Linked DNA regions of Homo sapiens: regions 1 and 2 are each linked to region 3. Evidence: promoter capture Hi-C in human tissues and cell types (Jung and others, 2019). All regions are on one chromosome and are shown on one strand. The core of a region is centred on a gene start or on the middle of the fragment in contact, and the rest is flanking DNA. Distances in the headings are between cores, read along the strand shown.

Evidence for each region. Contacts are between HindIII fragments. The study calls those that stand out against the background at their distance.
Region 1: a contact is called between a fragment that was not itself captured here and the fragment with the promoter of NKX2-8 in region 3, in 5 of the 25 tissues and cell types used here (H1 embryonic stem cells, adrenal gland, mesendoderm cells and 2 more).
Region 2: a contact is called between a fragment that was not itself captured here and the fragment with the promoter of NKX2-8 in region 3, in 1 of the 25 tissues and cell types used here (liver).

Annotation. Positions count from the first base shown.
Region 1 is chr14:36,524,128-36,526,995 of GRCh38, forward strand. LOC105370453 (a long non-coding RNA gene) reads left to right here and starts at 562. Exons shown (of 3, transcript XR_001750715.2): 1 at 562-1,081. RefSeq lists an enhancer at 739-1,677. The HindIII fragment of the contact is 5,941 bases long and covers 1-2,868 here.
Region 2 is chr14:36,626,616-36,629,677 of GRCh38, forward strand. No RefSeq gene overlaps it. Among named protein-coding and RNA genes, the nearest start is that of PAX9, 34 kb to the right of the region's middle. The HindIII fragment of the contact is 5,003 bases long and covers 1-3,062 here.
Region 3 is chr14:36,580,932-36,583,929 of GRCh38, forward strand. It overlaps NKX2-8 (NK2 homeobox 8), which reads right to left and starts at 1,683. Exons shown (of 2, transcript NM_014360.4): 1 at 1,302-1,683; 2 at 1-533. The coding sequence starts at 1,458. RefSeq lists enhancers at 1-263, 264-1,074. The HindIII fragment of the contact is 13,278 bases long and covers 1-2,998 here.

The sequences.
Region 1 (2,868 bases), core at 116-2,615, 57 kb before region 3:
GATCACAAAAGTCGCTAATAGAAGGAGTTATTCCTTCTGATTCTGTATTTTGGATTTAGAGAAACTGTGACTCTAGGCCTCTGACCTTCAACAAGAAACACTTGGGCCCCTCAGTTGCTCCCGCAGTCTCCCACAGCTAGGCACAGGCTTCTAAGCCGGGCTGAGCTGGGCTCGCGAGTGCCATCGAGGCAACCAGGCGCAGGGAGCGGAAGGCAGGAGTGTAACTGGGCGCTGGGGGGCGCTGCTCCGCAACCCCAAGATCCGAGGAATGCCTCCGGGGGATGATTTCTCTGGAGGGGTCTCGCAGGGCCCCCTCTGCGCTGCTTTCTCAGGCACCAGAACCGAAATCCTCGGGAGGGACCGCGGGAGCCCGGGGCGTGCAGACAGGCGGCTTTCACAGACGCAGCGGGAGGAAGGATCCCTCTACTGCTCCCTTTCCCGATTTGACCGTCTAGGGCCTTTGAGAGGACTTTCCTTTTGGGAAAGCTTTTCTCAATTCGTGGCCTGTGGGCAGGCTGGGGGGTGGGGCGCCAAGTCATCCGAGCGCGGCTTCTGCTTCTCCCTTTCCCTCACAGGCATGCTCTACGGAGGGTATGGGAGGCGAGGGCGCGTCTATGAGGGCCAGAGTCCGCGAAGAGAGTCCGGCCCTTAGGCCTTTGGTGTTGAAGAATCTGCTCCTCTGTCGGGTCAAGCCCCACTAGAAGTTAACACCTGTGGTCTCCAAACTTGCCTATTTTCCTGTCACGCAGTTCAAGCCAAGATTCAACTCGTCTTGAATTTTTGTATTTAGAGCCCCTACCTTCTCCACCGACTCCAGGGGCGCCCTCTGGCGGGAAGGGGCCTGGGGTAGGAGGGAACCTGAGGGAGCGGGTTACAAAGCAGAGAACAGCGGGAGCTCAGCAGCTCCCTTTGAATTGCGAGGAAACCAAGACGGAGACGGGAGGTAGGAGCACGGGCCTGAAGCGGTCAGCCGACCCTGTGAGGCCCGCGCTGCCGTGCTACGCCGCGAATCCGCCAGACGCCCCCGTCGGAAGGGGCAGGGACACCCTCGGGGGCGCTCTAGGGTTCGTGCTGCGCTAAGGTAAGTTTCGCAGCTGCTCCTGATAATTAAAGGACAGATTCCCGAAGCATCCTTGTGGCGGCGCGGCTGTTTTCGCCCCAGGACCTGTGCAGCCTCATTCAGCTTTAGGTAGTCGAAACCTATAGCTCTTTCTGCCCTCTGTTCCCCAACAAATCTCAGTCCCAACAGTGGGAGCCCGTGGGCCTTGGGTGTTCGAGTTTCCCGCGGGCTTGCCAGCAGCGCTGGGGTTCCCTCCTCCGCTCCTTTCCTCCTCTCCAACCTCCCACCACAGCCCGTCTCCCCCACATCCCCAACACTTGTCCCAGGCAGTTTCCGGTGGCCGCAGTATCGACCCCAGGCCATTGGGGTGGGTGTGAGGGAAGGGTGGAGGGGGAATCTCCGAGGCCCAATGTTTTCTGGGACTTGAGGGAGGCTGAATTCTCCCTCGCTGCCTAGGACTTGGGGTCTGAAGGTTGCAGACCGAGGCGATCCGCAGCGCCCTCTTCCGGCGGCCGTCTGGAGAACTGCAGCTTTAGAGCGGTCTCGGGGAAGCTTTGCTACTAGTTTCCGGCTAGGGAAAACTGGTGGTGGTCGGAGACTGGTAGTACATCATCCACGCATTCGCTCATTCTAACTGTCCGCCCGACCATACGTCAGGCTGTCTATCGGTCCACCCAAAGCCAATATAAGTTATGATTGACTCTTTGAATCACCCAGTCTCCTTGCACCTGCTATTTGAAAGAGCCCAGGTGTAGATCAGGGCTTGGAAGCTGCTCTTGTACCTAAAACCCTCTTTTAATTATGCTTTGCTTCGGAATTTTGTTATGCGAATGTCCTGTCCAAGTCAGAGGGCATTTGGAGGCATATTTGGTGACCAATGGAGTAGCTTGCACTTTCTGCATGTCCTTTCTGGAGGAGGCAGTGGCCCTATTAGCTTGACAGCCTGACACAAGGGGGTTCTGCCTTGTGTTGCAGCAGTAGGAGCATAACCTTTAGAAAATATTGGAGTAGGAAAACTTCTGGGACTAGCTACACTCGATGGGTGCCTTCCAGCTCTCCAATCTACGGTACCAACTCACTCAGGCAGGCTTTCCCCCAAATTATTCCCCCTTCTTTGGACTCTGGTCAAAACCAGATCCTCTCCACCCTCCCAAACCCATCCCAGCCAATATGCCCATGTTACTCTGCTATTCTTTTTCACTTAGCCAGAAAAATCATTCTTTCCAGCCCCACAACTAAGTCATATCCTTCTCTTTAAAAATCCAATTGCCTCTTCTGACAACTAAATGCCTGACACATAGTGGGAGCTCAATATATGTGTGCAGAATAAATGGATGAATCTCTATTACACTTTTCTGTTACATTGATAAGCAATTTCTTAATTGAGTGATTTCCTAATTGCCATGTGTTTGTGTTCTTTTTAGGCAGACCGTAAGCTCCTTATTTTCTGTTTTTTGTTGTTTTGTTTTTTCCCCCCAAGACAGGGTCTCTCTCTGTTGCCCAGGCCAGAGTATAGCGGTGTAATCATAGCTCACTGCCACCTCAAACTCCTAGGCTCAAGCAATCCTCCCTGCTCGGTCTCCCAAAGTGCTGGAATTACGGGCATGAGCCATCGTGCCCGTCCAGCTCCTTGATTTTAACAGCCATCTCAAAAACACTTAGACATGTTCCTAGAAATGTGCCCAGTGCTCTGAGGCATTTGATAATGTTAATCACCCCTTTCTAAAATTCTCTCATTGGCTGCAGAGTCACCACTCTATCATGGTTCTCTTCCTCCATCTCTGGACATTTCTTCTCAGAGACTAGGG
Region 2 (3,062 bases), core at 6-2,505, 45 kb after region 3:
AGACTACCCTGAATCTTAGTGGTTTAGAAAAAGAAAAGTTACTATCTTAGGTTTCTCATTATCAGGAGTCCTAGCACAGCTTAGCTGGATGTCCCACTTAAGATCTCTCACAAGGCTGCAGTCATCTCAATGCTCAACCCGGGGAAGATCCACTTCCAAACTGGCTCTCCTGTCTGTTGCCAGGTCTCACATCCTCCCTGGCTGTGGACTGGAGACATCACTCCTTGCCACGTGGACTTCTCCAAAGGGCAGCTCACAATATGCGGCTGCCTTCCTTCAGAACAAACCCGTGAGAAAGCGTGTCTTTTTGTAACCCAATCTCTATAGTGACATCTCACTGATTTTGCCCTATTATATTAATTAGAAGCAAGTCCCTTTGTCCATCCCACATTCAATGGGAAGGGATGTCACAAAGCTTGTATGCCCGGAGGTGAGGACCATTGGCAGTTTTAATCCAGCCTTGCTATTCAGTGCCCACAAGGGGCACAAGCAGCAATGAAATGGTCATCTCACTCTGAACATAACTCTGGCTCATCTCTTTGAAGAAGCTGGGAGTACACATAATTTCTGATAGCTACCATCTTCCTCCAAAAGTTAAATCCTGATGTACTTACACGCATGTACCGTGGACATACACCTTATATACAAATCCTAGGGAAAGTTGAGTCCCATTGTAGCTTATCGAGAAGAGTGAGCCTAGAACACAAAAACAGAATATTTTCTCCATAATGTCCTGGTACCTGTGGGTTTCAGTTTTGGTTGTGCCTTTTCTAAGTTGTGGGACTTTGGGCAAGAAACTTCCTTACGTCTCCATTGCCTCATCTGTAAATGAGGGGTAATAATAGAATTCATATCACTGGGTTTGTGGTGGGATTAAATAACAGTGATTACATATACAAGGGCCTAGCAGAGTGCCTGGCACATTCTAGGTACTAAGGAAATCTTGGTGCCTATCATTATCATTATTACTCACTGCTACTCTTTAATCTAATGTATTGCCCTTCCAGACTTCTGCACTTAAAACCTGGCTTGCCTCCTTTTAGGATTTCTAAAAGCTGGTCAATGCTAAAAACTTATGGACAGCTTTTTATGGCACCAATATATGTAAATTATAATCAGTCTTTGGAGGCCTAACGCTGGTAATTGGCTTCCATCAAAATAAGGCTTCTCAAAATCTTTAATAGAACAGGTTATTGAGAAAGTTTGCATGGAACAAAACATTACAGATTGGGAAATGCAAAGTTGATCTTTCACATTTCGTTGCTTTAATCATCACACACATTTTAAAGGGACATTCTGTGAATGTGAATAACCAAGGGCTACTTGGGCACGTTTGGCAAATTTGAGGGAATCTGCACAGAGAAGGGGAATATGGTCTCAGATCTTCTTACTAGGGTTGGAGCGTCCAAGTGTTTTAGAGGGAAGACAGCCCACAGACACGTTGCTCCCCAATGTTATATTGTGGAGTTAAACAGAGCTGAATGTCTCTTACTACTTGCCTGAGGCAATGTTAGTTGCATTCCAAAAGTTTTGAAATACATGGGCAGATATATGATCTATGGAATAATTGCTGACTTTCCATGTGCTTTGAAAAAGGGCTTAGGAGGGCAAAGCCACTTCTTTTTCTCTCTCCCAACTTTTTTTTCCCCTGGGAAGCAACAGGATTTTGACCCACTTCACATCCGCCTCCTGCCTCTGGTTTTGAAATCTGCAGCCTGATGGCTTGTTTGCTTGTTAGCATGAAAGGCTTGCCCTGGGTCTGTGCTTGCTTGTTAGTAAAGAACCAACAAGCATTGCAGTCCAAAGGTAATCACAGAATGAAATCACTTCCAGATGCTAAACCCACTCCTGATGGTGAAAGCAGACTTTACAATTGCAGTGGACCAGGTATTCAATGGCTCTCACCCAATCCTATTAGGGTTTTGAACATGCACATGTGTTCTCCTCCTCCTTTTTTCTCTCTCCCTCTTCTTCTTTTTTCTTCCCTCTATCACTCCTTGGTTTCCTCAGCTTGGATCAATTTCAATTTGAAGAGCAAAATCAAAGCTGGATATAACCCAGCCTCAATTCTCCCATAAGTATCTGAGCTCCTGTTATCTTGGGATCTATTATATGACGATAGCTCCCTGTTAGAGCTCCAGTCACCAAAGACAGGAGTAACTCTTTCTTCCAGCTCCATCCTCAATGGCCTGTCCCACGCCAAGTGCAAACATGAAGAGTGTTGTTCCTTGGACAGCAGATAAAGTGGCCAGAGGGATCATTCTGCCTGAAGAGCTACAAAGCTGAAAAGGGATCACTGTCCATACTCAAATCAGAATTATCACAGAAATGAGACTAGCTGAACAGAGCTGGAACCCACAATGGTAGAGTATGTGGGCTCAGCAGTGACATGGGAGCCAGTGTTCTCATCCTCTGCATGCTGAGCTGTGTCAGAGCTTCTCACAGAGTTCAAGAAAAGAGGGAAGGAAAGAAGATAGAAGGGGAGAGGAAGAAAATAAGGCTAAAAGAAGAAAAGAAATCAGTACTAAAAGAATATTGTTATTTAATCATAGCACTAAAATCTGAGGAAGAATAAAATCAAGAAGACTTTCAAAAGAGGAATTCATAGGGGCTGGGCGCGGTGGCTCATGCCTGTAATCCCAGCACTTTGGGAGGCTGAGATGGGTGGATCACGAGGTCAGGAGTTCGAGACCAGCCTGGCCAACATGGCGAAACCCCATCTCTACTAAAAATACAAAAATTAGCCTGGCACAGTGGTGGGCACCTGTAATCCTAGCTACTCAGGAGGCTGAGGCAGGAGAATTGCTTGAACCCGGGAGGCAGAGGTTGCAGTGAGCCAAGATCGCACCACTGCACTCCAGCCTGGGTGACTGAGCAAGACTCCACCTCAGAAAAAAAAATAAAAGAAGAATTCATCATAGACATATTGATTTTCTCCTCTCCTAAAGTGAGTACCATGAAATCCAATTTCATGTCCTATCTCAGCCTTACCCCTGAAATAAATTAAGTGGCAGAATCTTTTCCTTCATTCGCCAATTAGACTCCTTCACCAAGCCTCCAAT
Region 3 (2,998 bases), core at 433-2,932:
TGCTAAGTGCTGGTAGGCGGGGAAGAGGCCAAGCGCCGAGCCGGGACCGAAGGCAGGGTAGCCCGGCAGAGGGCAGGCGGCGGCTGGAGGGGCGCCGCACTTCTCCTGGGCCGCGGCGGTTCCCACCTCGCCACCGCCGCCGCCGCCGCACGGCTGCCCGTCGCGAACAAGCACCGGCACCACCACGCGACGCAGCAGGCCGGGCGCGGCGTGCAGCTCGGCGGATGCTGCCAGGTCAGGCGACTCCGCCGCCCCTGGAGCGCGAGCGCGCTTCAGCTTGTAGCGATGATTCTGGAACCAGATCTTGACCTGCGTGGGCGTGAGGCGAAGCAGGCTCGCCAGCTGCTCGCGCTCGGGCGCAGACAGGTACCGCTGCTGCCGGAAGCGCCGCTCCAACTCCAGCGTCTGCGCCTTGGAGAATAGCACCCGCCGCTTCTTCCTTTTCTCGGCGTCCGAGCCCGGAGACGCGGGCCTAGCGGACGGCCGCTGCGACGAGTCTGGCGGGCTGGTCTCCAGGCTGCTCTCGTCCGAGGCTAGGGACAGCAAAGGAGACACGGGTGGGTGAGACGCCGGACCCTACGAGGGCCTGCTGCCCTTCTGGCGCGGGCGTGGAGGCACTGGCCAGAGGGCACGCCCACTAGCCCGAGACTTTCGGGATGAGGCCATTTCCTGAGTCCACATCTGGACATCCACCTCTCCGAATGCGGTGACCTCATTCATACCACAGCGGTCATCAGCGGGCCTGAGATCGTGCCCCGAAAAAACCCACCCCGGGGCCCTCTTAACATGTCCGCACCGGTAGTTGCGCTGGCCGACCAGTTTATCACAAGCTGGGTCACCAGCGCCGGCCTCCTCCAGGTCGACTGCACTGCAGTGTGCCGAGGTTTGCGGAGCCCTGAGTGGGAACGGGGTGGGGGTAAACTCGCCAACACTGGCCATCCCAGACGGAGGCCTGGAGATCGTGGCCGTGTTTTCAGGCATGGAGAGGGGGCGGGGGGTGGGGTGGGGGCGGCAGGTGGCGGCGCGTTTTAAATTTCAATTATTCCGACCTCTAGAAATCGTCAGACACAGAAACCCCAAATCTCGGAGCACCAGTGCCAGGCAGGGATCTGCTCTTAGGATGTGCCGACCGGGATGAATGCGTTAGGGGTTCGAGGACAGGGCTCCCGTTTCCAAGACTGAGGAAATCTAGACTCTGGGCTGGGATTTCGGCTTTCCGGCCCCTCGTGGGCTGGGCCCTTGATTCTGCTGCCCCACGCCTCCTACCTCCCACCCCGCACCGCAATCCACCACGCACTTACAAGGGTAGTGGCCGCGCTCCGAATCCAGCCAGGCGGCGCAGGGGTCGGGCTGGGGGGCGCGTGGTTCTGGCTCCCGCCTCGGCAGGTGTTGCGCGTCCTGCTCGGGTAAATCTAGAAGGCTGCGCACGGTGAAGCTCAGGCGTCCAGAGGTGGCCATGGCCGAGGAGGGGAAGGAGGCGGGGGCAGGGCAGGCTGGGAACGGAGGGGCGGCCGGGACGCCGCTCCTACGGATGGGCGTGGGAGGCGCTCGCCATGCGCTGGCAGCCGGGATATTAGCGCATTTACAGCGGAATCTCTGTTTATATAAACAGCTCTTCCCACCCAGGCCGCTTTGAAAGCCGAGGTCCGGGTCTCCAGGGTGTTAAGTACCTGAATGAGCACTGGACCAGAGCCGGGGCGAGCCCGGAAGGTGCCACCTCCGCCCCCGCCCCGCCCCGCACCCCGCCCCGCACCCCGCCCCTTGGCGCCCAGTTACCTCCCAGAGGCTGCAGGAAGCAGCATTTGGCATTAGCGATTCTGTCTGATTAGCCCAAAGTGGGGACAGATAATGGGGATTGTTACCAGTGAATAACATCTTGGGTGGCGAGCGGTGGCCACCACCCGCCTGACCCAGCCCCAGCTTCCTCCTCCTCCTCCTGGGCTGACTTGAGGCCAGGCCCCGCGGGAGCGCCGGGAAGGGTGGGGGTGGCAGGGGTGGGTTTATTAGCACCCAGGAATTTATTCCCTGTTTGCTTTATTCTTCGAGCTTGTTTGCTGGAGTGGTAGTTTCCCGCAATTATCCAGAAAGTGATTTACAAAGCGGCGTTAAACTCTGGCGCGCTCCCTTTCTCTTTTTGGTTGGGCCCCTCTAAGATTCAGGATGACAAGTTTCAGGAGGGCGTAAAGATTAGCCTGGCCCTGCCAGCATTGGCCCAGGGGTTTCAACGGCCGCTGGGAGCCTCGGATCACACCATACATCCCCCTAACAGCCTCAGAGGTGCTGAGGAAGGGCTGGGACAACATTCGGAGCCCCAGCTCCACGTCTCCACAGGCCGGCAAAACAGAAGAGGCTTGTAGCCAAGCTACTTAGGTCTACAGTGCCTGTCTCTTTGGCCCAGCTTCGCCCGGCCGCTGCCGATCTCGGAGCTCGGAGGCCGAGCTCCACAAATTTGGGTCCAGGCCCGCTTTAGAGCCCCTGGGCGGGGGCGCTTCTCAGGGCATCCTGTGAGGGCTTTGAGGCCTCCTTGGAGTCGCCAGATGAACTGGTGCCGCCTGTGCGCCTTGGCCCCATAGCCTCAACGGCACTCTCACTGCCTGGGCTTTGGTCTTTGCCCAGGAGCCTGCCCATGGCCTACGCTCCCCGCTCGCAGCATGGCAGACCCTGACGAGGCTGCCCGCCTTGGTCCGGGAATGGACCGATCGGGAGAATTAGGACAGGGCCTACCCGGCAGAAAATACCACCGGCCATGGGTTTCTCTGGGATCTTCTAGTTTCCACAGTTCCACCCTAGAAAATGATCAATGTAGGAGGCGCAGGGAACAGGCCGCCGTGGATACATTTTGTTGGGCCATGGCCTAGCTCTGGCCGCGCTTCAATCTACAGAGGAACGCCCTCTCAGAGGCCTCTCCTACTGAAGCTAGTAGTTTGGATATTTAGTTGCTAAATTGTAGCGAAGGGCTCTGTACTTGGGTGGCTGCACCAGAAGTCCTGGCTCCTCC